Regions from separate parts of the Homo sapiens genome. Here region 1 is linked to region 2. Evidence: promoter capture Hi-C in human tissues and cell types (Jung and others, 2019). All regions are on one chromosome and are shown on one strand. The core of a region is centred on a gene start or on the middle of the fragment in contact, and the rest is flanking DNA. Distances in the headings are between cores, read along the strand shown. Region 1 overlaps RBFOX2 (RNA binding fox-1 homolog 2). Region 2 holds the start of RBFOX2 (RNA binding fox-1 homolog 2).

Evidence for each region. Contacts are between HindIII fragments. The study calls those that stand out against the background at their distance.
Region 1: a contact is called between a fragment that was not itself captured here and the fragment with the promoter of RBFOX2 in region 2, in 1 of the 25 tissues and cell types used here (dorsolateral prefrontal cortex).

What each region holds. Positions count from the first base shown.
Region 1 is chr22:35,762,177-35,767,423 of GRCh38, forward strand. RBFOX2 (RNA binding fox-1 homolog 2) reads right to left here. Exons shown (of 14, transcript NM_001349999.2): 7 at 3,247-3,307. Among named protein-coding and RNA genes, the nearest start is that of APOL5, 47 kb to the left of the region's middle. The HindIII fragment of the contact is 3,561 bases long and covers 1-3,179 here.
Region 2 is chr22:36,027,114-36,032,135 of GRCh38, forward strand. It overlaps RBFOX2 (RNA binding fox-1 homolog 2), which reads right to left and starts at 1,711. Exons shown (of 14, transcript NM_001349999.2): 1 at 1,127-1,711. The coding sequence starts at 1,312. RefSeq lists a silencer at 1,877-1,946. The HindIII fragment of the contact is 7,839 bases long and covers 1-4,852 here.

The sequences.
Region 1 (5,247 bases), core at 149-2,648, 270 kb before region 2:
GCTTAAATATTTATAAATATTAAGAGTTTCCAAATAACATTATGTTTAATGTCAACTTTATTTCTTCTTTCCCTTTTTTATATTTATAGGAATATGGCAAGTATTTTTTAAAAAGGAATAATATACGATTGCTCACTGCGAGTGAATAAAAGTAGAATTCCACATGAAAACTTTAATCAATATTAACTGAATTTTACATATAAGCAAAAATACTCTATATTATATATTTTCTGACTCATTTGTCTTTTTATATTAAGACCCTAGCATTGTGCCACACTATTCTATAAATATACGAATGAAAAGAAAAAGGCCAGAATTGGCCTCCTCTTTTTTTTTTTTTTTTTTTTTGAGACAGAGTCTTGCTCTGTCACCCAGGCTGGAGTGCAGTGGCGCAGTTTCGGCTCACCACAACCTCGGCTCCTGGGTTCAAGTGATTCTCATGCCTCAGCCTCCCAAGTAGCTGGGACTACAGGCACGTGCCACCATGCCTGGCTAGTTTTATACTTTTAGTAGAGATGGGGTTTCACCATGTTGGCCAGGCTGGTCTTGAACTCCTAACCTCAGGTGATCCACCCGCCTCAGCCTCCCAGAGTGCTGGGGATTACAGGCTTGAGCCACTGCGTCCAGCCACAATTGGCCTTTTCAAAAGAATTATTGAAATTACCAGATTTAAATGACTGTAAGCAAGACATTATTCAAGTGAAAACCTATTCACTCTGATTCAATCCAATCTCTTATTCATCATTTTATGTGCTCATAAAATGCAATGTCTCTTCAATATTCCACATAAAATTCTGGCAAAATCTAGGTTCAAATCCTACTTGAATTGTAAGAACACAAATATTCTGCAACATCAAATTACACAAATACTGTGCAACATTTCTGCACAAATTAAGAGATTCCAACCAACCTAAATGAGAATGCTGACTGAGAATTCATTAGGAGGAACCCAACAAATTCTTCTTAGGACCTTTAACACAATAGCAGAAGGTTTCTTGCCTACTAAACCTGAATATTAATTTAGAATAATATTTTAAAAAATAACCTTTTTCTTTCCTACCAATGCCACTATTGCCTGAGCATTCCCTTTAAATCCACATAATGGGCAGGCACCGTAGCTCAAGCCTGTAATCCCAGCACTTTGGGAGGCTGAGGCGGAGGGATCACCTGAGTCTAGGAGCTCGAGACCAGCCTGGCCAACATGGCAAAACCTCGTCTCTACTAAAAATACAAAAATTAGCCGGATGTGGTGGCACACACCTGTAATCCCAGCTACTCTGGAGGCTGAGGCACGAGTATCGCTTGAACCCGGGAAGTGGAGGTTGCAGTGAGCTGAGATCGCACCACTGTACTCCAGCCTAGGTGACAGAGAGACTCTGCCTCAAAACAAAAACAAAAATCAATATAATGGATGTATATTGACATGTTGTTAGTAATACTTTGAATATATTTAGTTTTAGAAAATTTACAATGTATTTTCACAGATGCCCTTTGACCTTCACAAAACCCAAAGAGGAAGGTAAAATAGATACCACATCTGCAATCTGAGGTCAATACTATACTTTTCTGGGTCTCATTTCCTAATAATAAGCTGGGAGGGTTGAGTTTCAATAATTTCTTAAAAAATCCTGGTGCCAAAAATCTGTGGTCTCAATTTATAAATATGAAAACAGAATTAGGTTAAAAAACTGGTCCACTGTCACGGAGTAAATAAAGAGTCAAACCTAGAAGGAGAACGTCTGTTTTCTGAATTCCAGTCAGAGGCTCTTTCTGTCACAATATTTCCCTTAGATGTAAAGAAAATTTGACATTCTTTGCCTCTCCTTTCTATTTTGTTTACTTTGAGTTTTTATCAAAATTGTAGAGACTTGTTTTTGTAAGAGCAGTGAAAAGAAAATAAGAGGTAAAGTGGGAGGCAGTGGTATCATACCGATAAAAGGAGTAAGGAAAAATGCAAATTATGCTGATAAATTTGTATCATCTATGTGAAAAGCTGGGCTAAATATATTTATTGAAGACTTTATGGGATATAGTCAATACGGATACATTTCTCCTTGATTTAAGACATTATTAGCACATACAGCCATACTCTAGCAGTGGGTTCAAACTTTTTAAAAAAACAGCAGAGCCAGGCATGGTGGCTCACGCCTGTAATCCCAGCACTTTGGGAGGCCACGGTGGGCGGATCACGAGGTCAGGAGGTTGAGACCATCCTGGCTAACACGGTGAAACCCCATCTCTACTAAAAATACAAAAAATTAGCCAGGTGTGGTGGCGGGCGCCTGTAGTCCCAGCTACTCGGGAGGCTGAGGGCAGGAGAATGGCGTGAACCTGGGAAGCAGAGCTTGCAGTGAGCCTTGATTGCGCCAGTGCACTCCAGCCTGGGTGACAAAGCGAGACTCCGTCTCAAAAAAAAAAAAAAAAAAACTCCAGCAGAAACTCCCCCCTTTATTCTAGATATTAGTAAAAGCTTATGCAGAACCCTAATTGCTCAGACTAAAGTACAGCTGAGACCTCAGAATTCAATCCATTTGGTTTCCTTTTTCTCTCCCAAACTGGCTCTGCAGAACAGTCTGCAAAACCACCACTGGGCTACAGATTAAATTTATATTCCATCTCATTCAGAGACCATGAGTCTAGATTAAATTTGGTAACTGATGTAACAAATTATTCATAGAAAATTTCCTTCTCAATGAGAAAAACTTATAAACCTTACTATATAATATGTAATCATGAAACAGAAAATGATACACACACAACCATACCCATGGCTGTTATCTCTAGGGCTAAGGAGAGCAACAGGTCCAGAATTATAAAAGTGATTAAAATATCCTCCTAATTTATTCCACTTATGCTCAGATGAATGAAAGTCAGAACTAAAAGTAAGAGTCAGTGGGCATCCAGGGGTATTACGGACAAGTCTAACATATTAGAAAGAGCTACAGCAGCTGAAAAAGAAGGTGCTCAGGTGGGATCCAATTTGGGTTAATAGGCAACTAGATAGCATGTTTGCACTGTGTAAAAGATGAACATTACTTAGAACATAACACCTTAATAACTAAAAACTTAGCTCAATTGTAATGACAAAGTTATTCTGTAAAAATAAAATACTCTCCCAGGTAAAGAGACTACTTCAACACAAATCAAACTGTCTTAAGACGGAAATAAAGACATTCTTAGAAGTTTATAAAAACTTCATATATTTACACAAGAATAAACACTCTTTCGAAGATTATAATTTCTTACCATTTGCATATGGTGTGACCATCTTCTTATTGGTCATTACACGTGCTGTAGCATTATTCACCTAAAAATAACAAGGAGAAAAAAGGGCAGGGAAGAAGTGGACCACATTAGGGAACATAAAGTTGCACATCCAATAACAGAGTATTTAGTTTAAAATGTAAATTTCTGAGAGCAGTGATTTAAATAATTAACACAGCAATATAAAATATTAATATATAGTATTTTAATTAAAGTTCTTATCAAATGAGGATAACAAGAGTAAAGTGAGTTTCTTGGTTTCCAAATATCAGTACTCCAAAGAAAATACATTTGCAAGATCTTTGGACATCTTTTTAACAGAGAAATCTCTGCACTAAGGAAAACACAGAAAAAAGTAAATAGGAAACTATATTAGCAATTCACTTTGAAGTCTGTTAATAAAACAGAGGCTTGCCACATGGGTTATGAAATAGATTGATGGAAAGGTGATAAAATAAATCTGATTTCACCTGTCCTAATGTTCAGCATTTTAAATATGTCTGTCAGAGATTTTTACTGTCTGAGGTAAGTAAACAAATATAGAAACCTAAGATTCCCCTGCTGACAGCCTTCAGGACCATTCTGAATTTTCTAGACTACATGGTCTATCAATTTAAGAACAAAGCTTTTAAGAAAGCCTTTAAAGTAGGCACTTAAAAGAATTGAGAAAATAAAGTGTTTATTTATTTTGTTTTATGGTACTCTCCACCCTCATTACAGAACTGCATATTTTAAAGCATTCTCAGTGCTAGAGTAAGTAGGTGTTACAAAGATGCTGCTGCTGAAGAAAAGATGAATGGAACTAAGATGTCAGCATACTGCAGCCCAGTGACAGAACCAGTCTCAAAGCTCTTGCAAGGAGGGTAAAGCTCCACCATAGAACTTGACTTATACTGTGTTGTCAGGTCATAAAACATGCCAATTGAAAAAAGAAGCATAAAATATAAATGTCTTATTTTTGCCTCTTCAAATTTACATTGTGTTCAATTTGTATGGTAATAAATTTTTGTTATGAAAAGACCAATTTTAGGTAGAATTAGAACTAAAAAAAAAACCTCTTCCTATGTCTTTTAAGATTTGTACAGTGATAATCCCCCATATGAGGAAAGAGCTTGAAACTCCATTTACTCTAGCTTCGCCCACCAAATAATATAAACGTTTCACATTTAAAAAGAAAGAATGGGATACAACAATGATGAGACTGAGAGCATGCAGTTAAAAAACACACACACACAAATAAAAGAAAGAAAAAACAATCAATTTTGGAAAGAGGGGAGAAACTGAAAAGCAAGGTTCTCACAGACAAGGATTAGAATGGAGCAAGAGCTGAAACCAGCTGCTGGAGCAGAAAGCAACCAAGCACTTAAAAGGAAAAATGGCCAGAACCAATCAGAAACCACCAGTCAGCAAAAGAGACCAACAGCTGCGTGTAACTGAAGGGATGGGAAAGGAAGAATAGGGAAAGGGACAGGAACAAGGATCCGGAAAAAGAGAGTAAGGTAGGGAAAAAGAAAAGAGAAAGTCAGGAAGGGTGTAACGGGCAAAGAAAGAACAGTCAGAGCTACAAACGGGGGTTTGGGAAACAGGAAAAGTAGGGAAGGATGTAGGGGCAGGAAGTGCATTAATAAAACCAGCCAAACTGGAGTTCAGTAACTCTGAGTAAGATGTGCAAGGGGAAAAAAATCACCATGAAGTCAGTAATCAAACAGCTCAGACCGCTACAAAACAATATGTACATCCAAAATCCAGGCGGCATTACTCAACAGCATTGAAAATAAAAGGGGGAAAGGAAAAGGAAGAGGAACAACAAGTCAAATCACATTTTGTAGTGTTAATGTGAGATGGCAGATGGACTTTTTCTTTCTTATTTAATTGTTTTGTAATTACATTTTTAAAAGCTTCTTCTCTAGTGCTTTTGTTCACTTACCGCCAACGGGCACCATCGCCAGCATTGTGTATAGTTACCATGGAAAGAGTGAGTCA
Region 2 (5,022 bases), core at 461-2,960:
GCTGGGACTTGAATCTCCTCCAAAAAAAACAAAGATGAAAACTATTGACTCTCCTCCACCAAAAAGTGCACATCACCTACTATGAGTAAGAATCTTCCAAGTCTTCCCAGGTTAAGAACCCCTGGAAAAGATGATGTCTAGTCCTCCTAGCATCCCTCTAACATCCTATGACTCCGAGAGAATTAGGCACAAGTCTGCACAACTGTTGGTAGGTGAGACTCATCATGTCATAGCAGTATTTTCTGGGCAAAGACCAAATCGTAAAACCTCCAAAGGTTTCAAGGTCTTCTTCAAAACTATGAAGTCAGCTGACATCAATACCTTTCCCATTCCCTACCCAAATTAACCACGTTTATCTTTCAATCCAGAATTGAGAATCCAGTCTTCTAATAGCCCTATAAAAAAATTTTTTTTATAGCCCGGGACATTAAAGAGCTATTTTGTGTCCTGGTGATGTAGAATGCAATTGGCAAAGAACAGGAGGGACATGTCTAGTGTCTCCCTTCAGACTCATTAGTATGCTCCACAAAGTAAATGAGACTGAGCACCACCGTGTCCCCATAACATTACCAAACTCCTTGTACTTCTCACACTCTGTGTGATTTAACCCACAATCTCAGCCACATCCCCTCGGGGCTCTCTCGAGGAGTTTTCTTTTCACTCCTCTCATTGAAATGCCACTTCTCTTCCCCATCCCAGCGTGTGCCCAGGGCTGCCAAAAGGTACTCCCTCTTCTCGGGAGGTTTCCCACCAGATCTCCTTTTCCTCGACTCAGTCCAGAGAAGCCAGGATTTCCCGGCTTCCACTCCACCCCAAGGCACTAAGGAAGGATTTGAAAAAATGGAATCCATCTCAACCTTGTTCGATTTCCCCCCAAAACCTATCCACTCGTCGTGCCTCCTGGCCCCTCAGGAATCAGGACCCTCTCGGGCACACCAGGTTCAGTCCTGCAACCTTCGTTCCTAGCCCGAGCTCGCCCCACCTTCCAACCAGGCCCCGAATGGCCCCCCATCCCACCTCCAACCCAGGACTCCCGGAGGCCCTCCCTCTCTCCAAGCCGGGGAGCCCGGTGTCGACCCTCACGCCCACCCCCGCAATAACTGGGCGCCCCGTCCCGCGCGGTCACCTGCATCCCGCCGCCACCGTCGGCCGCCGCCTCCTCAGTGCGCGGCCGCTTGCTCAGGCCGGGATCGGCTCCGTCTCCTCCCGCTCCGGGCACCGGCAGCTCCAGCTCCGACTCCCGCTTCATGCCCCGGGCGGCGGCGCCGGGCCCGAGCTGAGGCGGCTGATGCGGCTGGGCGCCCTCCGCCATCCGCCCGCGCCCCCCTCGCCTCCGGGAGCCGGGCGACCCGCGACAGGCCACCTCCCCCTGGGCCTCGGCCCCGACTGTCGCGACAGGCGGGCGCGCGCCTGCCCCCGCCCCCGCGTGCGTGCGTGCGTGCGCGCGAGCGGACTCCGCGCCCCTCCGCGCCTCGCGGCCGCCGCTCCTTGCCTGACCGCTTGCTCCCCGCCCGCCCGCCCGCCGGGTTGTCGGCGCGGGGCCACTGGCGGGTCGTGATGAGCACTCGCTCGCGCCCCCGCACGCACACGCGAAACCCGGCCCGGCCCGCCGCGCCGCCCCGCCTCTCGCACTCCCGGAGCTCGCCCACCGGCCGCGCTGGCTCACACTCTCCCTCACAGCACGCCGGCCGAGGGAGGAAGGGGGCGGTCCGGGCTCCCGAGGCGTGGGGAGGGCTGTTTATTTTGGGGGGAGGAGGGGCGCGAGGCAGGAACGAGCTGACTGGCCGGGATCCTCCGACCCGCCACTGTGGCAGCACCGGGAAGGCGGGGAGAGAGAAAGAGGGAGGGAGGGAGGGACCGGGATGTAGAACTCCAGCCCGCGCGGGAGGCTACGGCGAGGGGGGCGGTGGCGGCCCGCGGGGGGGGCGGGGCCAGGCCCCCTCGGCAATCTCCGTAGTCTCCTCGCTGGCTGCCCGAGGGAGGCCGGGAAGCGATCGGGGAAGCTCGGGAATCTCCGGCACGGGCCTGGGATTGTCCTGGAGGCACAGCGCGGCTGGAGTGCGGGGCAGCGCGGGGGGGGCGGGGTCTGTCTCCTTTCTGGGCGGGGCCGTATCCTGGAGCAGGCGGGGCTTGAGAGACCCGAAGGCCAGGGAGTGGCTCCTGCTTGCGGTACTAGTTGTACAGAGTTAAGTCCTGAGTTTACTCGCCTGAGCACCTTGGTTCCCGGAGAGGGAATGGGCACTCTGTGAGAGGCAGGCTATTTGCCTGCTTCCCCTCCCGCAGAAGAAAAAATGTCTCAAATTGGAAGGTCGAGGAATGAAGCCACCCCTCTATGGTTCACCCCAGTTCTGAGAGCTTTTACTCTAATATAACTCACATTCCTAATGAAGTTAGTAATAATACCCGATGTTTGTAAGAGCTTTAGAGTTTGCACAATGCATCCACAGACCCGTTTCAAACTGGTGATATAAGTAGATACCATGATCTCCATTTCATTGATGATGAAACTGAACCTTAGTTAAATCCTGCAGCAAAAAAGTGGCAGATCCGGAATTCAGAACACGAGAACATATTCTCTTTCTTCGTACCTTGCTGCCTGAGGAGCACTTTATGACTTACCAACTTCGTGGAGATAGAGATATCTGTGCAATAGATTCTCTCCCCTACCAGACTGTGAGGACAAGGACTGCAGTGACTTCCTCTGAGTTCCATATCGTGCCCTGTACGTTATAGAAATAAAAGGATATTGCGTGAATAACCTGGATTCTAATCTTGGCTTTGCTAACTAGCTTAAACAAGTTACTTCATCTCTTTGGACCTCAGCTCCATCATTTGTAAAATGAGATGGTTTGGATCAGTGGCTTTCAACCAAGGAGAAATTTTGCCATTCCACCACCTCCACTCCCACATTTGTCAGTGACTGAAGGCATTTTTTTTTTTTTTTTTTTTTTTTTTTTTGAGACAGAGTCTCGCTCTGTCGCCCAGGCTTAAGTGCAGTGGCGCGATCTCGGCTGACTGCAACCTCTGCCTCCTGGGTTCAAGCGATTCTCCTGCCTCAGCCTCCCCAGTAGCTGGGACTACAGGTGTGCGCCACCAACTAATTTTTGTATTTTTAGTAGAGATGGGGTTTCACCATGTTGGCCAGGCTGGTCTCGAACTCCTGACTTCAGGTGATCCGCCTGCCTCGGCCTCCCAAAGTGCTGAGATTACAGGAGTTAGCTGCCGCGCCTGGCCGACTGAAGGCATTTTTGATTGTTACAGTGGGGAGGTGCTGCTGGCATCTAGTGTGTAGAAGCCAGGAATGTTGCTTGACATCCTATCATGCACAGGACGGTCCCCCCAGGAGAGTTATCCAACCCCAAATGTCAATAGTGCGGAGGTTGAGAAACGCTGGGTTAGATGATTTCCAAGGTCATTTCCAACCAGTGTGTGATTTGGCCTTTGAACCTGGGTTTAACCTGGCTGGGGCTGGAACAGTACAACAGTAAAGATCCCTGCTTCAGAGTCAGACCAACCCAGATGAGAACGCAGGCTTCCCACCTCCTGCCCACGTAATCTGGGACCAGTGGTGACTAAGAACTTCCATATAAAAGGTGTTTGGGGATTGCAGACTGGTTGGAAGGGAAGTCGGGAGGACTTGCCTTGAAGGTGAGTTGTTGTATTGAGCATATTGTTTGTATTACTTAGGCTGTGTTATAAATCAGTAAAAATAGCAGAGTTTTAGCTCTGCCACCTGCAAGTCATGATGCCTTGTGACAGCTACTTACCCCCTCTGTGTCTCAGTTTCTTCATCTGCAAATTAGGATAACAATAATACCTTCCTGAAAAGATTATTGTAAGAATTTAATGTTATCACGTTTAGAACTTTGAACGGAATGATTTAGGATAAGCGCTCCATAAGTGTTACAGCTAACACTTATAGCTAACTAATAATAGCTTATTAGTAGTACCATTATCACTTTATTCACTTTTTTTTTTTCAGATGGAGTCTCGCTCTGTCACCCAGACTGGAGTGCAGTGGTGTGATCTCGGCTCACTGCAACCTCCACCTCCTGGGTTCAAGCAATTCTTGTGCCTCAACTTCCCAAGGAGCTGTGATTACAGGCGCCCACCACCACGCCCGGCTAATTTTTTGTATTTTTAGTAGAGACAGGGTTTCACCATGTTGGCCAGGCTGGTCTCGAACTCCTGACCTCAAGTGATTCCCCCCCTTTGGCCTCCCGAAGTACTGGGATTACAGGCATGAACCACCAGGCCTGACCTTTATTCACATTTTAAATGAGAGTGAAAAAACATTCATTGTCAAGATCAAAGAATATCATTATCATTATTATTGGGTTTTTTTTAATTATGTAAGGTGACTTGAGTGGGGCTGCTAGAGATTCACATGCGGCAAGCAAAGCACCCCAGTAACCCCTTGGTGCAACCACTATGCTGGGCAAATTACTTTGTTTCACTAAGCCTTCCATTCCTCATTTGTAGGATAACAATAATAGTCACAGTGTTGTTCTAAGGATTAAATGGGACAAAAGTAAACACTTAGCACAGTGCCTAACATAGTAACTGCTTAATAGGTGGTAATTATTCATCAACTAATTTGGTTAGTGATACAGTAAGCTTAACCAGGGGCCTTGGAAAGAGAAGCCTTAAACAACTTCTTCTTCTTCTTCTTCTTTCTTCTTTCTTCTTTCTTCTTTCTTCTTTCTTCTTTCTTCTTCTTTCTTCTTCTTCTTCTTCTTTTTTTTGAGACAGGATCTCACTGTCTCCCAGGCTGGAGTGCAGTGGCCCAATCTCAGCTCACTGCAACCCCCGCCTCCCAGATTCAAGCGATTCTCCTGCCTCAGCCTGCCAAGTAGCTGGGATTAGAGTCACGCACCACCATGCCCAGCTAACTTTGTGTATTTTTAGCAGAGACAGGGTTTCACCATGTTGGTCAGGCTGGTCTCAAACTCTTGGCCTCAACTGATCCTCCCGCCTCAGCCTCCCAAAGTGCTGGGATTACAGGCGTGAGCCACCACGCCC